Linked DNA regions of Homo sapiens: region 2 is linked to region 1. Evidence: promoter capture Hi-C in 16 types of primary human blood cells and fetal thymus (Javierre and others, 2016). All regions are on one chromosome and are shown on one strand. Each heading gives the region's core, a stretch centred on a gene start or on the middle of the fragment in contact. The rest is flanking DNA. Distances are from core to core; before and after follow the strand shown. Region 1 holds the start of KPNA6 (karyopherin subunit alpha 6). Region 2 overlaps COL16A1 (collagen type XVI alpha 1 chain).

Region 1 (7,048 bases), core at 2,483-4,982:
ATAGTAGAAATAGTGTAGGATATACGACTGAGCTAGTAGGATACAGACTGAGAGTACACTTAAGAGGCAGTGAAATACGGCAGGTTCCGTACTTGTGGGCATGTGAAGGCAGGCTGTGTTAGTGTCTCCAGTGCCCAAAGGATCCAGAATACCAGCCTTGGACTAGTCACCTAATCTTCTCAAAGCCTCAGTTTATAAGTGTAAATGGAGATAACCCAAGATACCTTAGATTAGATGTTAGAATTAAATGAATGCATTAGTTTGGTCTACAACAAACAAAAAGCTGACATTCATAAAGACAAGCTACGATGAGGGAGAGGTACCTGAGATGGAGCTGGAAAGAGGAAGTTACCTGACTCTAGGCTAAAAACCCCCTTCAAGACCTTGGTCAGGGTTTGTTGCTCCACTGAAGAACTTTCATGTTGAACTGTACCAGAATAGGACTAACTTTATTTCTTAACTTCTTAAGTCTTATAGATTTATGTGCTGCAAAATGGGTAAGAATCTTACTCCTGGCTTTGTGGCTTACTGGCTGTGTTATCTTCTCCGAGACAGTTTCCCAATCTATAAAACTGAGTAAATCTCTACTTATTTCACTGAGCTTATTAAACATTAGTTCCTTCCCTTTGAGGCAACAGTGTTTCTGAAACTGAAGACCAATATAAAATTTATAACAAAGTTTATAACATAAAACCCCCTAAATTTTTTTCACTGAAAGATGAAGCTCCAGCTACTAAGAAAGGCCTATCAGTCTTATTACTCAATAGGGAAACCTGGAAACCAGAGTGCTTAAGGGAAAGGAACATTATTGAAAGTGGAAAAGAATCTGTTCTGATATTCATGGAGCCCTTTAGGCTCCAAACACTGTTATCTGTTTTTTGTTTGTTTATTTGTTTGTTTTTGAGAGGGAGTCTAGCTTGTTGCCCAGGCTGGCATGATCTCGGCTCACTGCAACCTCCGCCTCCCGGGTTCAAGCAATTCTCCCTTCTCAGCCTCCCAAGTAGCTGGGATTACAGGAGCACGCCACCATACCCAGCTAATTTTTGTATTTTTAGTAGAGACAGGGTTTCACCTTATTGGTCAGGTTGGTGTCGTCCTCCTGACCTCAGGTGATCCACCCGCCTCGGCCTATGGGATTATAGGCCTGAGCCACCTTGCCCAGCCCAAATGCTGTTATCTTATTTAGTCCCCAAATATCTTGATAACACAGCCCCACCCCTTCTTTCTAGAGGTCAGAAAAGGAAGGCTCAGAAAGGAAGAAAAACATTATTGTGGACTGTGCTAGATGCTTTCCATATGTGTTGTTGTGTCTGACATTTAAGTGACTTCCAATACCAGATCTGATTCTACAGTCATTGCCTTGAAGCTCAAGTGAATAATTTCTGCTTCCTTAGAATCTCAGATCTTTAAAAATCCAATTCCAGGCCAGGCGCGGTGGCTCATGCCTGTAATCCCAGCACTTTGGGAGGCCGAGACGGGCAGATCACCAGAGGTCAGGAGTTCGAGACCAGCTTGGCCAACATGGTGAAACCCTGTCTCTACTAAAAATACAAAAATTAGCTAGGTGTGGTGGTGGATGCCTGTAATCCCAGCTACTCAGGAGGCTGAGGCAGGAAAATTGCTTTAACCCGGGAGGCAGAGGTTGCAGTGAGCCGAGATCTGGCCACTGCACTCCAGCATGGGAGACAAGAGTGAAATTTCTTCTCAGAAAAAAAAAAAAAAAAAAAAAAATTCAATTCCAGATTCTCATTTTGCTTGCCCCACACACAATAATTAGAGTTATCAATTCACTCTGGACTCCTTCAGTTTCGTTCAGAAAAAGGATTTCAAAGTGGCCGGGCATGGTGGCTCACGCTTGTAATCTCAGCACTTTGGAAGGCGAGGCGGGAGGATCACGAGGTCAGGAGATCAAGACCATCCTGGCTAACACGGTGAAACCCCGTCTCCACTAAAAATACAAAAAAATACAAAAAAAATTATCCAGGCGTGGTGGCGGGCACCTGTAGTCCCAACTACTCGGGAGGCTGAGGCAGGAGAATGGCGTGAACCCGGGAAGGTGGTAGTTGCAGTGAGCCGAGATCGCGCCAATGCACTCCAGCCTGGGCAACAGAGCCAGACTCCGTCTCAAAAAAAAAAAAAAGATTTCATAATGGGCCCACATGCAAAAACAAAAAGCAAAACAAAACAAAATAAACAAACAGAAAACCCAAACACATTTACAACTTTGCCTAGGGTTAAAAGCTTTTTTCCCCTTTTCTCCCTGCCCAACCACTAGAGGGCCAGGTCATTTAAAAAAAAAAACAAAACAAAAAAACAGGCTGGACGCAGTGGCTCACACCTGTAATCCCAGCACTTTGGGAGGCCGAGGCAGGCGAATCACTTGAGGTCAGGGGTTCGAGACCAGCCTGGCCAACATGACGAAACCCTGTCTCTACCAAAAACACACAAAAATCAGCCGGGCGTGGTGGTGGGTGCCTGTAATCCCAGCTACTCGGGAGGCTGAGGCAGGAGAATCGCTTGAACCCGGGAGGCAGGAGGTTGCAGTGAGCCGAGATCGCGTCACTGCACTCCAGCCTGGGCGACAGAGCAAGACTCTATCAACAACAACAACAAACAGCAGTTACAAACTAGGCTTGGGAGTGTTCACCCTGGCTTAGCCACTGCATGACCTTGGGTAAGTTACTTTACCTCTCTAAAGCTCAGCTTCCACATCTGTAAAATGGCAATGGTAGCATCTATTTCCTTAGGTTGTACAAATTAAGTAAAACAAGACATGTAAAGCAATCAGAACAATGCCCGTACGTAGAAAGAGCTTAGCAAATTTCACAATTTTTACTGCTTTAGAGGAATTACCACTGTTGGTTCTGTCTCTAAATCCAAAGACTTCGCCATGGTATTCTCTCTGAACAGAGGCCTTGCCAGCCGGAGTCCCCTCAGAAAGATCAACAGGTCGCTCCTTTTCTCCTTACCAGGGCCAGCCCAGAAACCTAAAGTCCTCAACCTAAAGATGGCCAAGAGGACTTGGCCTTTGGTGTTCTACCATCACAAGCGATGCCACTCTGAGCCCAACCGAACCACACTATTTCCGCCTTGATTCCGTTCTCCCGGCCTTCAGCGGCGCAAGCTGCCCTCGGCCTGGCTGCCCATGCTTACCGGCCTAGTGCTGGCTCGCCTGACGTCCCCTCACTAGAGGACTCCACCTCGCTACGTAGGTAGGACTTCCCTGAGTTCAGGGGAGCCACTGAATCTAGTCAAGACACGCGTTGGCCAAACACAACCCAGGAGAAAGCTACCTTAGCGCCGCCCAGGCCTGCCGCCGGGAGCCCGTCCCCCAGCCCCAGTCTGGGCGCAGGACAGAGAGTAGGCCCCTTTCTACCTCCCAGGAACACGTGGGCTCCTGCCCGAGGCCACCATGTGGGGGGCTCCAGGCGTGCCAAGGTGTCCCCGAAACCAGCACCAAAGGACTGCTTCCAGCACGGGCCCTAGCTCGGCCCAAAACTGGCAAGAGGGGCACTCCCGGCCTGACTTTTCCCCTCAGACCTAGCTAGAGGGGATGCAGACATCTTCCGCAGACCGGAGACAGGCTCTCGCCAAATCCCAGGCCCCGACACTCCCTGAGCCCAAGAACCCTACTGCGTGGTTTCCTCACTCACCCATCGCGGGTCCGCTCGCTCACTCTTGGCGGCGGAGGCAACGGCGGCAGCTTCAGCGGCAGCTTTCAGTAGACAATATGGCGGATCTGTAGGACGGCAGCCCGAAAGGGACAAACCAGTTAACTCCAGGACGAAACGCTTTATTGGCCCAATCGCCTATCATTACACCGAAAGTGCGCACTTAAAGAGACCGCAGCTACTAAAGGTGGGGAGTGGAAATGAAATAGGAAAGGAGTGGTTGGGAGGAGACTGGAAGGGATACCTAAGAAAGTTAAGTGTGTCTAGGAGTTCCCAGCTGTTTCTGCTACTATTTCTTTTTTATAGTGAGATTTCTTTACCCGGAACTTTTTCTCCCAGAAGCTTATCCCTCCTTTTTTTTTTTTTTTTTTTTTTTTTTTTTTTGAGACGCAGTCTCGCTCTTGTCCCCCCAGGCTGGAGTGCGATGGCGCGATCTCGGCTCACTGCACACTCTGCCTCCCGAGTTCAAGCGATTCTCCTGCCTCGGCCCCCCGAGTAGCTGGGATTACAGGCGCCTGCCACCACGCCTGGCTAATTTTTGTATTTTTACTAGAGACGGTGTTTCAACCATGTTGGCTAGGCTGGTCTTGAACTCCTTACCTCAGGTGATCCGCCCGCCCCCAAAGTGCTGGGATTACAGGCTTGAGCCACCGCTCCGGGCCAGTTTATCCCTTCTTCTAATAGTTGAAACCAATCGGCTGGGCGCTGTGGCTCACGCCTGTAATCCCAGCACTTTGGGTAGGCCGAGGCGGGCGGATCACCTGAGATCAGGAGTTCGAGACCAGCCTGCCCATGGTCTCTACTAAAAATACAAAAATTAGCTGGGTGTGGTGGCGCATGCCTGTAATCTACTTGGGAGGCTGAGGCAGGAGAATTGCTTTAACCCGGGAGGCAGAGGTTGCAGTGAGCCGAGATTGTGCCACTGCATTCCAGCCTGGGAGACAAGAGCAAAACTCCGTCTCTAAAAACAAAAACAGCAATCATAGACCTTGGGCTGAATATGAACAACGAATCATCTAGAGAGGGGAAGTGCCTTGCTCAATGAGGCTATGGAGAGAAGGAAACAAAGAAGTAAGACTAAACTCAGGTTTTCTGATTAGGCCTACGTAGGTAGCCCTAGTTGAGGTTGCAATCTTATTGGGAGATGAGAAATAGAAAAATAGGGCTGGGTGTGGTGGTTCACGCTTGTCTATAATCCTAACACTTTGGGAAGCTGAGGCCAGAGAATCACTTGAGGCCAGGAGCTCAAGACCAGACTGGGCAACACAGTGAGACCCCATCTCCACAAAAAATAAATTAAAAGAAAAAAATTAGCCAGGCATGGTAATGAGCACTTGTACTTGGGCGGCTGAGGCGAGAGGATCACTTGAGTCCGGGAGGTCAAGGCTGCAGTGCCATGACTGTGTCACTATACTCCAGGTTGGGTGATAGAGTGAGACCCTGTCTCTAAAAAAAAAAAAAAGAGAGAGAGAGAGAGAGAAAGAAATGGGCTGGACATGGTGGCTCATTCCTGTAATCCCAGCATTTTAGGAGGCTGAGGCGGCAGATTGCTTGAGCCCAAGAGTTCGAGACCAGCCTGGGCAACATAGCAAGATCCCCCGTCTCTAAAAAAAAAAAAGAAAAACAATGAGACCCATGCAGTATAGTTAACAGAGTGATTTCATAATCATTTCATTTATCCTCACAGCAAGCTCCTTGAAGGCAGGGGTGGGTTCTATATTGTTTACCACCGTATCTCCAGCACCTAGCACAGAATCTGGCACATTGTGTGTGCTCCATAAATAACTATTGAATGAATAAACAAAGGAATGAACAAAAAATTGAGTTACACAGAGCAAGGGACATGATCTCCCCTTTTAGAGATGAGGAAATTGAGGCTTTTATTGTTCATATGCCTTTTCAATCACGGGACGTATGGCTAGTACATATCAGGCCTTTCTTTTTCCATGACATGGCAGCCCTCCTGTCCCCCACCTCGACACACAGAGCCAGGCTATATCTTCAAGACACAGAGGGATCTATCTTCTGGAAGCAGAACAAGGGCCTGTCACAACAAACTGCCAACTTTAGTTGTGCGCCTGGCCCATTTTCTTGAGGCAAAGAAATCAAAAGGAAAACTCTAGGATGAAGGTCAGGAAGGGGCGCACTTTATTTCCCTTCCTACTGCCCCTGCTTAAGGTGAGACCTCATCACTTTGCCCTGTTCTGTTTTGCCTGCCTCCTCTCTGGCCTCCTGCCTCCAGACTCTCCGGCTCCCACCCACTATCTCCTGAAAAGCAGAGACCTATAATCTCAGCTACTGGGAAGGCTGAGGTGGGAGAATTGCTTGAGCCCAGGAGTTCAAGACCAGCCTGGGCAACACAGAGAAACCTGTCTCATTAAAAAAAAAAAAAAAAAAGAAAAAAAAAAAGAAAAAAAAAAGCAGAAACCTTACAGTGTAACTCTTCTGCTTAGCAACTTCCTACTGCCTGCCCTTAGGTAATGCCCAGACATTTTAATCTGGCACAGACTGGTCCTTACCTGCTTCTTGGGACACTCCCCACCAGGCAATGCAGGCTCCAACCATATTTGGAGAACCACTTTTCTTCAAATATGCGCCTGTCTTCTCATGTGCCTTTGCATATGCTGTTCCCTCTGCTTAGAATGCAGTGCCCTCCTTTCCCCACTTAACCATGAGAACTACTCACTTTTTTTTTTTTTTTTTGAGACAGAGTTTTGCTCTTGTTGTCCAGGCTGGAGTGCAATGGCATGATCTTGGCTCATTGCAAACTTCACCTCCCAGGTTCAAGCAACTCTCCTGCCTTAGCCTCCTGACTAGCTGGGATTACAGGCATGCGCCACCACACCCGGCTAATTTTTTGTTGTTGGGTTTTTTTTGGTGTTTTGGTTTTTTTTTTTTTTTTGAGACAGAGTCTAGCTCTGTCGCCCAGGCTGGAGTAAAGGGGCGTGATCTCGGCTCACTGCAACCTCTGCCTCCTGGGTTCAAGCGATTCTCCTGCCTCAGTCTCCCGAGTAGCTGGGATTACAGGTGCCTGCCACCACACCCAGCTAATTTTTGTATTTTTAGTACAGACAGGGTTTCACTGTGTTGGCCAAGCTGGTCTCGAACTCCTGACCTCGTGATCCACCCGCCTCGGCCTCCCAAAGTGCTGGGATTACAAGCATGAGCCATGGCACCCAGCCTAATTTTTGTATTTTTAGTAGAGACGGGATTTTGCCATGTTGGCCAGGCTGGTGTTGAACTCCTGACCTCAGGTGATCCACCCGCCCCAGCCTCCCAAAGTGCTGGGATTACAGGCGTTAGCCACCGCGCCTGACTCTGAGAACTACTCGCTTTCAAGACTGAACTCAGCTATCAGCTCTTTGGGGAAGCCTGTC
Region 2 (7,048 bases), core at 3,354-5,853, 460 kb after region 1:
ACAGAGCTGGGCTGGACACACCTGGGGGCCTCAGGCTGTGGAAGGGGCCTCTTCACTGCACCTGCCTCCCCAGGGAGCCTCAGAGATGCTGCCCGGACTTCACCTCTGACTTTTGCTTTCCTCTAGGGACCCCCTGGAAAGCAGGGATTCTATGGACCTCCTGGTCCCAAGGTGAGTGGGCACTGGCTGGGCTTGAGAGGAGAAGCTCACGAGTGGATGAAGCCCAGCTGCAAGTTACGGCTTTAGCCACAGAGAGGAGACACAGGAAGGCCAGTGGGCAGGGGGCAAAAATGCAGAACTTGGAGCAGGATAGTGTCTGAAAATTTCTCACATGGGGTCATTAGCTGTGGTTGGGGGGAAGGAAATCTCCAGTTCATTTACTCACTGATTGACTGATTGATTCATTCATTGTTTCCATTTCCCGAGCACTCCCTTGCTCCTGCTCACATTCCAGGCCCTTGTCCTGGCCTCAGGTAAACAGAGGTCCCTGAACAATAGGTGCTCACAATAGACCAGTCACACTTACACTAGGGATTGGCAAGTTTTCCAGAAGACATGAGACATAGCGCTGTGGGATGAGAGGGAGGAGCACCCAACCCAGCCTGGGGAGTCGGAGAGGCTGCAGAGAGAACAGGAACACTTCAGCTCAGGAGGGGTGCACTGGATAGAGAGAGATGAGGGGAAGGGCATTCAGGACCATAACAACATGGCAGAATCAGAGAATCATCACCAGTGAGGTCTGGTGGGAGGCAGAGGGTGGGGAGAGGAGGCTGAGGAAGGAACGATCAGGACCACATAATGAATGGCCTTGCATGCCCGGCCAACGAATGAGTGCTTTATCCTGAGGACATTTGGGAGCCATCAGAATTTCTAAGCAGGGAGTAACACCAGGAGAACTGTCTTCTAGAAGGACCACTCTGGGGCAGTGAGGTGGAGTGACCTGTCAGGATGCTGTGGCCACAGTCTAGAGGGAGACGCTGGGGGCCTGGTGGGAGGGTGGAGAGAAAAGAGCAGATTGGTGAGACATCATGATGTAAATTTGACAGCACTAAGTATCTATCTTTGTAGGGTGATCCAGGAGCTGCAGGACAGAAGGGCCAGGCAGGAGAGAAGGGGAGAGCCGGCATGCCTGGTGGACCTGGCAAGAGTGGTTCCATGGGGCCTGTTGGGCCACCGGGCCCTGCAGGAGAGAGAGGCCACCCTGGAGCTCCGGGGCCTTCGGGGAGCCCTGGCTTGCCTGGTGTGCCTGGCTCCATGGTAAGGGGGAAGGCTGGCAGCTGTGGGCACTGTCCCATAGAGCAGGCATGTGGGGTGGAGCTCGGATCATCTTCCAAGCTCCTGCTGACATTCTGTGGGAAAGAGCCTGGCTCCCATAGAGGGCAGCTCTTAACTGTGTGCGGAAGGGTGGGGATGATAGGACCCTCTCCCCAGAAAAATGCACTTAAGAACAAAATGTTTTGTATCATATCTGGGTGGTTAGGACTTTGGATTGAGAATCTACGGAGGTTGCTGTGAGCCAAGATCGCGCCACTGCACTCCAGTCTGGGTGACAAAGTGAGACTCTGTCTCAGAAAAAAAAAAAAAAAAAAAAAAAAAAAAGAATCTGTGGGAGGCTCCTGGGACCTTTGCCTTCCTCCCCATCCTTTATTTCCATAGGGGAAAATGCCAGGCTTGGAAGTATAATTGAGGCAGGTTTTCTTCTCTTTCTTCAGGGAGACATGGTGAATTATGATGAAATCAAGAGGTTCATCAGACAAGAGATCATTAAAATGTTTGATGGTAACTGGCAGCCAGCTGGGTGGCAGTGGGTGCTGTCTGCCCTTCCTTGTGACTTCTCTGCCCTGCCTTGGCCTCTTTCTCCTTAACGCTCAATGTCCTCCTGCTCTCACCCTCCACACACTCACAGGCCTGGGGTTGACAGGCAGATGTTCAATTATCCTTCAGACCTTCCTTGTCACCTGTTCTGTTCAGAGATAAAATGATTCCCTCCTGCATTCCCCGAGCCCCCACTTGAGCAAAGGAGACAGACAAGAAAATTGGTATTAAACGAGTCTGCCTGAAGTGAGCTCTAAATACAGGGGCGAGCGGCACTGTAAGATGGCTGGGGTGGTTTATTTGAAGTGTTTTTTTCTGTTCATTTGTTCATCCAACATTGATGTGCCAGGGACTGGGGAAAACACAGGCCCTGTCCTGAAAGGGCTGGACGTCTTGCTTGGGAAGCAGACCTTGAATGCCAAGCAAGGAATGCGGACTTTATTCTGAAGCCAGCGGTGAACTAATGAGGGGTGTTGGAGCAGAGATGCCATAGTCAGATCTGTGCTTTGGAAGGATCTCCATGGGGAGCGACGTGGAGGCCAGGACGTGGGAACCCCCTTGCGAGACCCACCCCCATACTCCTTGCCCTGACATCCCTGTGAAGGAAGGCTGCTGTGGACTTCATGCTGGTGGCCTATATGCAGCATCTGCAGTCATTCTGAGTCCCTGGGGGACCCTCTGACCTGTCCCTGTCCTTGTCCTTTTTTTACAGAGAGAATGGCTTACTACACCTCCAGGATGCAGTTCCCCATGGAGATGGCGGCAGCTCCGGGACGACCAGGGCCTCCAGGGAAGGATGGTGCTCCGGGCAGGCCAGGTGCTCCAGGGTCACCTGGGCTCCCTGGTCAGATTGGCAGAGAAGGACGGCAGGGCTTGCCAGGAGTAAGAGGTAGCTCTGCCCTACAGTTCCCAAGGGACACATGTAATTCTTTGGGGCAGGCCTAAGTATTCCATGAGGTCTGTTGTGAATATGGGATGTATGTGTGTGTGTGTGTGTGTGTGTGTGTGTTTCAAGTAATCTGACTGGCTGTGTCATTTTTCTGCTCAGGGATAGGACTTATTTATTTCTTTTGTTCCAGGATTGCCTGGTACCAAAGGTGAAAAAGGGGACATTGGTATTGGCATTGCAGGAGAAAATGGTCTTCCCGGCCCCCCAGGTAGGAAATACCACCATTTGAGACCATGAATCCAGAGCAGCAGAGACCCCTTTTCTTTCTGTTTCTTCTATGACACAGCTGTGTCAAACTCCAAATAACGACAGGCCAGTCAACCACATTTATAGGAATGCCACTGTGTGCAAGACACTCTGCCAGGGCCTGTGGGGATGTGGGGGCGGAAGACTCAGTACCTGTCCTTAAGTCCTAAACTGGGCTAGCATGATGCAGTAGGAGAGAGCTGCATGGAGGTGGGGATGAGGAACTCGAGTTCAAGTTCTACTCAGCACCTCACTGGCTGTACACCTTGAAGAGGCCACTTAAGCCCTTTGGAAGTGCTCTCTACGATGAATGTTTGGCTATATAGCCTGAAAGAGGATGGCCAAAGCCTGATGACCTGGCTCTGAGACCCAGCATCACAACTTACCAGAGGTGCAACCTCTCTGAGCCTGTGTCCTCATCTACAAAATTAGACAATAGCTTCTTTCTCAGGAAATTGTGCAGATTCAATGAATAATGCATCAAAAGCACTCAGCCCTGTGCCTGGCACATGGAAGTTCTAAATAAAACTTGCCAGCAGTATTGTTATTGTTAAATCAACGTGAGGATCAGACTAGGTCTTCATGAAAACATGTGGTAACTTGAGAAACAGTCATCAAATGTAAGGTATTATTTGATGCCATTATGGCTTCTTTTCCCTTATGATCTGGGTCTTCTGATTTTCCCTCTGTGGCCCTTCCCTCCCTAGGTCCTCAAGGTCCTCCAGGCTATGGCAAGATGGGTGCAACAGGACCAATGGGCCAGCAAGGCATCCCTGGCATCCCTGGGCCCCCGGGTCCCATGGGCCAGCCAGGCAAGGCTGGCCACTGTAATCCCTCTGACTGCTTTGGGGCCATGCCGATGGAGCAGCAGTACCCACCCATGAAAACCATGAAGGGGCCTTTTGGCTGAAATTCCCCACCTGCCTTTGGATGAAAGACTCCGTTGGGAATAAATGGCCAAAGCTTATAGGACTCTGTGACAGGTTGTGAATGTTTTTTTTGTTGTTGTTGTTGTTTTTAATTGCTGTTAATATTTTTTAAATAATAAAGAAACAAAACTATCTGCCCTTTCCCTTCCAGTGGGTTCCTCTGGTGCTGCAGCCAGAGCTCCCTGTTGCCCTCCTTTTCCCGTTTAGTCCCAGGAACAAAAAAGGGCATTTTGGGTACAGGGGCATATACCTGTAATCCTAGCTATTCAAGGGGCTGAGGTGGGAGGATCGCCTGAGCCCAGGAGTTTGAGACCAGTCTAAGCAACATAATGAGACTCAGTCTCCGAAAAATAAAAATTAAAAAATAAAGGGTATTTCCCTCCTTGCCTGTGGTCAGCCAGTGGTGCTGTGAGATTCTGCTGGATGGGGGCAGCTGATGACCCTTTGCTCCTCGGGATCTTGTGCCCTGTTCTTCATGCCTACGTCTCTTGAGTTAGAGAAGGAGCATCACTCAGCCTCTTCTCTCAAGTGAACCAAAGCACGTTGGAAGGTCCCACTTCCTGCTTTAAAGGTCCCTCCCTATTTGATTCCCTAAAGAAACCCGTGTTCAGTACCCCACCCACTCTTTGCCCATCCACTTCACCTTGTCAGTGTGACCCAGAGCCGGTCCGGGTTGCACCCTGGGAAAATGCCACCCGGTGCTGAGGTGTGTTCATCTGCCTGGAAGCCCTTCCAAGCATGCAGGCACTTCTTGATGCTCCAGTAATTCTGTGATTAGAATACCTGTGCAAACAGGAGAGAAGACAGGCTCCAGCTCTGTCCTAGGCATCCAGGGAATGCTTCTCTGGGAAATGAGATGGAACCTTCTGCCTGTACCAATGCATGGTCACTAGCTCTCTATAAGTGCTTCCAGCAATGACTTTCTGGAGGGCAAATAACATCTCCTGTTTTTCTTTATTATTCTAATATACGTGGTACTTTTCCTGTACATCTTAGCCTAGGCCTTTAGAAACAGCCAGGTTGTATCAGTACAAAGAGTTCATGGGCAAGCCACGAGCAGATCTAAGCTCACGGTCCTCAAAGTCCACTGGGAGTTTGGTGATCTATCTGTTGTGTCCTTCTCCCTATGTAAAAAAGGCTAGGAAGGGGAAAAAAGACAGTGAATTGAATATTATAGAAACATTCTCTCTTGAGCTTCTTCCTTCTCTACTTTTTAGATCTCTTGTCCTGATGGGCTGGCTGCCCTGTGAGAAAGCAACAAGGCACTTCCAGGGGGATTTCCAAAGAAAGCTTTTTCACTGGCCCCAGCTATCTGGAAGGTTTATTCAAGTTGGATACACTTCAAAGGACTCACAGAGCAGGCTCAGAAATGTACCCAAAGTCTAGATGCTTATCCAAACTGCCTGAAGCCTTCAAACCGGCTGTCAAATCTCTGCAGAGCTGGTATTTCTAGCACATTTCTGAAAACTCCCTTCTCTAGTTGGGTCCCAAATACCAGGAGACCAGCCTATTGATGGCTTTTCAGAACCTTTGCCCTATTTTTTTTTTTCCTGCCAGGAGCAAAGGTGTGCTGGTGGCCAGAAGAATGAAATCAGACTCCTGAGCATGCCCGAGTGTCTCATGTGATGTTTTTAGATAAAGGAGGCGCTGATTCTTTTTTCATCCCTCCCCAGCTATTCTCAGTTAACCCTGGTTCTAACATAAAACATTAAAAAGCAAAGGCATCATTTTTGTACTGAAGTAGCAGCCAGGTTTTGGACAGTGGAAGAGGACAGATGTTAAAGCACTCCCATTGGAAGGCCAGCTTCCTCTTTCAGCCTAGTCTGCCGAGTACTAGCTGATGATAGGCCTTCTCATGAGGAGCATGTTGGCGCTGGCAGAAAGAAAGAGACGCAAGGACCAGCTGTGGAATTGAGCAGGTTGGCTTTGAAGGCCAGAGGGGAAAAACTGCTATGAGGAAACATCCAACTCATCCCCTTTAAGGGTCACCAGGGAATTGATCCTTATAGAGTAAATGATGCCTTCTTCACTTTTCTTCCTGAGTCAAATTCATGCTACTCTTAAGGGATTCTACGACAGGCTAGGTTTAAGCTTTCATGATTTGAATGCATGTCTCCCCGGAGTTTGAAATTGCTGTATTTTCTTGGACCATGAAGAACCAGATGGAAAGCTGAATTTTATAGTCTCTTCTGTTACTGTGGTCAGCAAGAAATCCATGGATCTTGCTCATCAGTTCAGGAGCTGGGTAAGCTGAAGAGAAAGCAAGGAGGGGCATGTGTCGTCCATTCCTCTTAGGCAGCTTTTGCACGTTCCAACCCCATTATCCTTCTGTCTTCATTTCTTAACCTACTCCAGGCTTTCCAGGCAGCACACAGATCATTCAGATTGGAAAAGTCTAACTTGATGAGTCCATTCCTCTTCCTACTTTGTCCCAGGGACTGTACTAGGCTCTGGGGATCCCAAGGCAAACTAGACAGATATGGTCCCTGCTCCCACAGCATCCACAGGGAGAGCAGACAGTTAAACAAGCACCTACAATAAAGTGGGATGATAGGGCAGTGCCAGGTACAGGGGAGTGCACAGCTGGGGAACCTAACCATGTCTAGACGAAGAGATGGATTCAGGCAGAGGGAACAGCACGTGCCAAGGCCCAGAAATGACTGGTTGCAGCAGGCTGAGTGACGGGAGACAGGACAGTGTGATTGGATTTTGGAGCATGAGCAGGGAAGACAGTTGGAAGCCACTGGTGGGTTTCTCACAAAGGTGTGTCAAGTCAGGTTTGCCGAGTGGGGAGTTCGCTGATGGCAGTGTGAAGGATGGGACTGGAGGGTCCTTAATTTGAGAAACCCTCTGCTCAATAAGATGGAGAAAAGGCTGCTGTGTATTTATTCTGCAGAGAAAAATCTAAACTTTGATGCTTCTGGAATTTAAATCTTCATTTTTTGTCATAATATTTTCCTCTGTCACTCAAATTCAACAGAATCTAATTAGACTCTTTCTTCATCTGGGGTCTGTTAACCCCTTTACAAGACTAGTTTTTTTTTTTTTTGGAGGTGGGGGGACAGAGTCTCACTCTGTCACTCAGGCTGGAGTGCAGTGGTGCGATCTT

What was found. Contacts are between HindIII fragments. The CHiCAGO score rates a contact against its expected background, and 5 or more counts as called.
Region 2: a fragment that was not itself captured here is called in contact with the fragment with the promoter of KPNA6 in region 1 in 1 of 17 cell types (fetal thymus); the score reaches 5.1 in fetal thymus.

Annotation. Positions count from the first base shown.
Region 1 is chr1:32,104,740-32,111,787 of GRCh38, reverse strand. It overlaps KPNA6 (karyopherin subunit alpha 6), which reads right to left and starts at 3,732. Exons shown (of 14, transcript NM_012316.5): 1 at 3,654-3,732. The coding sequence starts at 3,657. RefSeq lists enhancers at 3,002-3,519, 3,477-3,906, 3,520-4,038. The HindIII fragment of the contact is 1,772 bases long and covers 2,244-4,015 here.
Region 2 is chr1:31,649,523-31,656,570 of GRCh38, reverse strand. It overlaps COL16A1 (collagen type XVI alpha 1 chain), which reads left to right. Exons shown (of 71, transcript NM_001856.4): 66 at 127-171; 67 at 1,069-1,257; 68 at 1,713-1,779; 69 at 2,528-2,704; 70 at 2,895-2,972; 71 at 3,718-4,308. The coding sequence ends at 3,920. PEF1-AS1 (PEF1 and COL16A1 antisense RNA 1) reads right to left here. Exons shown (of 6, transcript NR_184313.1): 3 at 4,583-4,722; 4 at 527-619. Among named protein-coding and RNA genes, the nearest start is that of PEF1, 8.2 kb to the right of the region's middle. The HindIII fragment of the contact is 1,256 bases long and covers 3,976-5,231 here.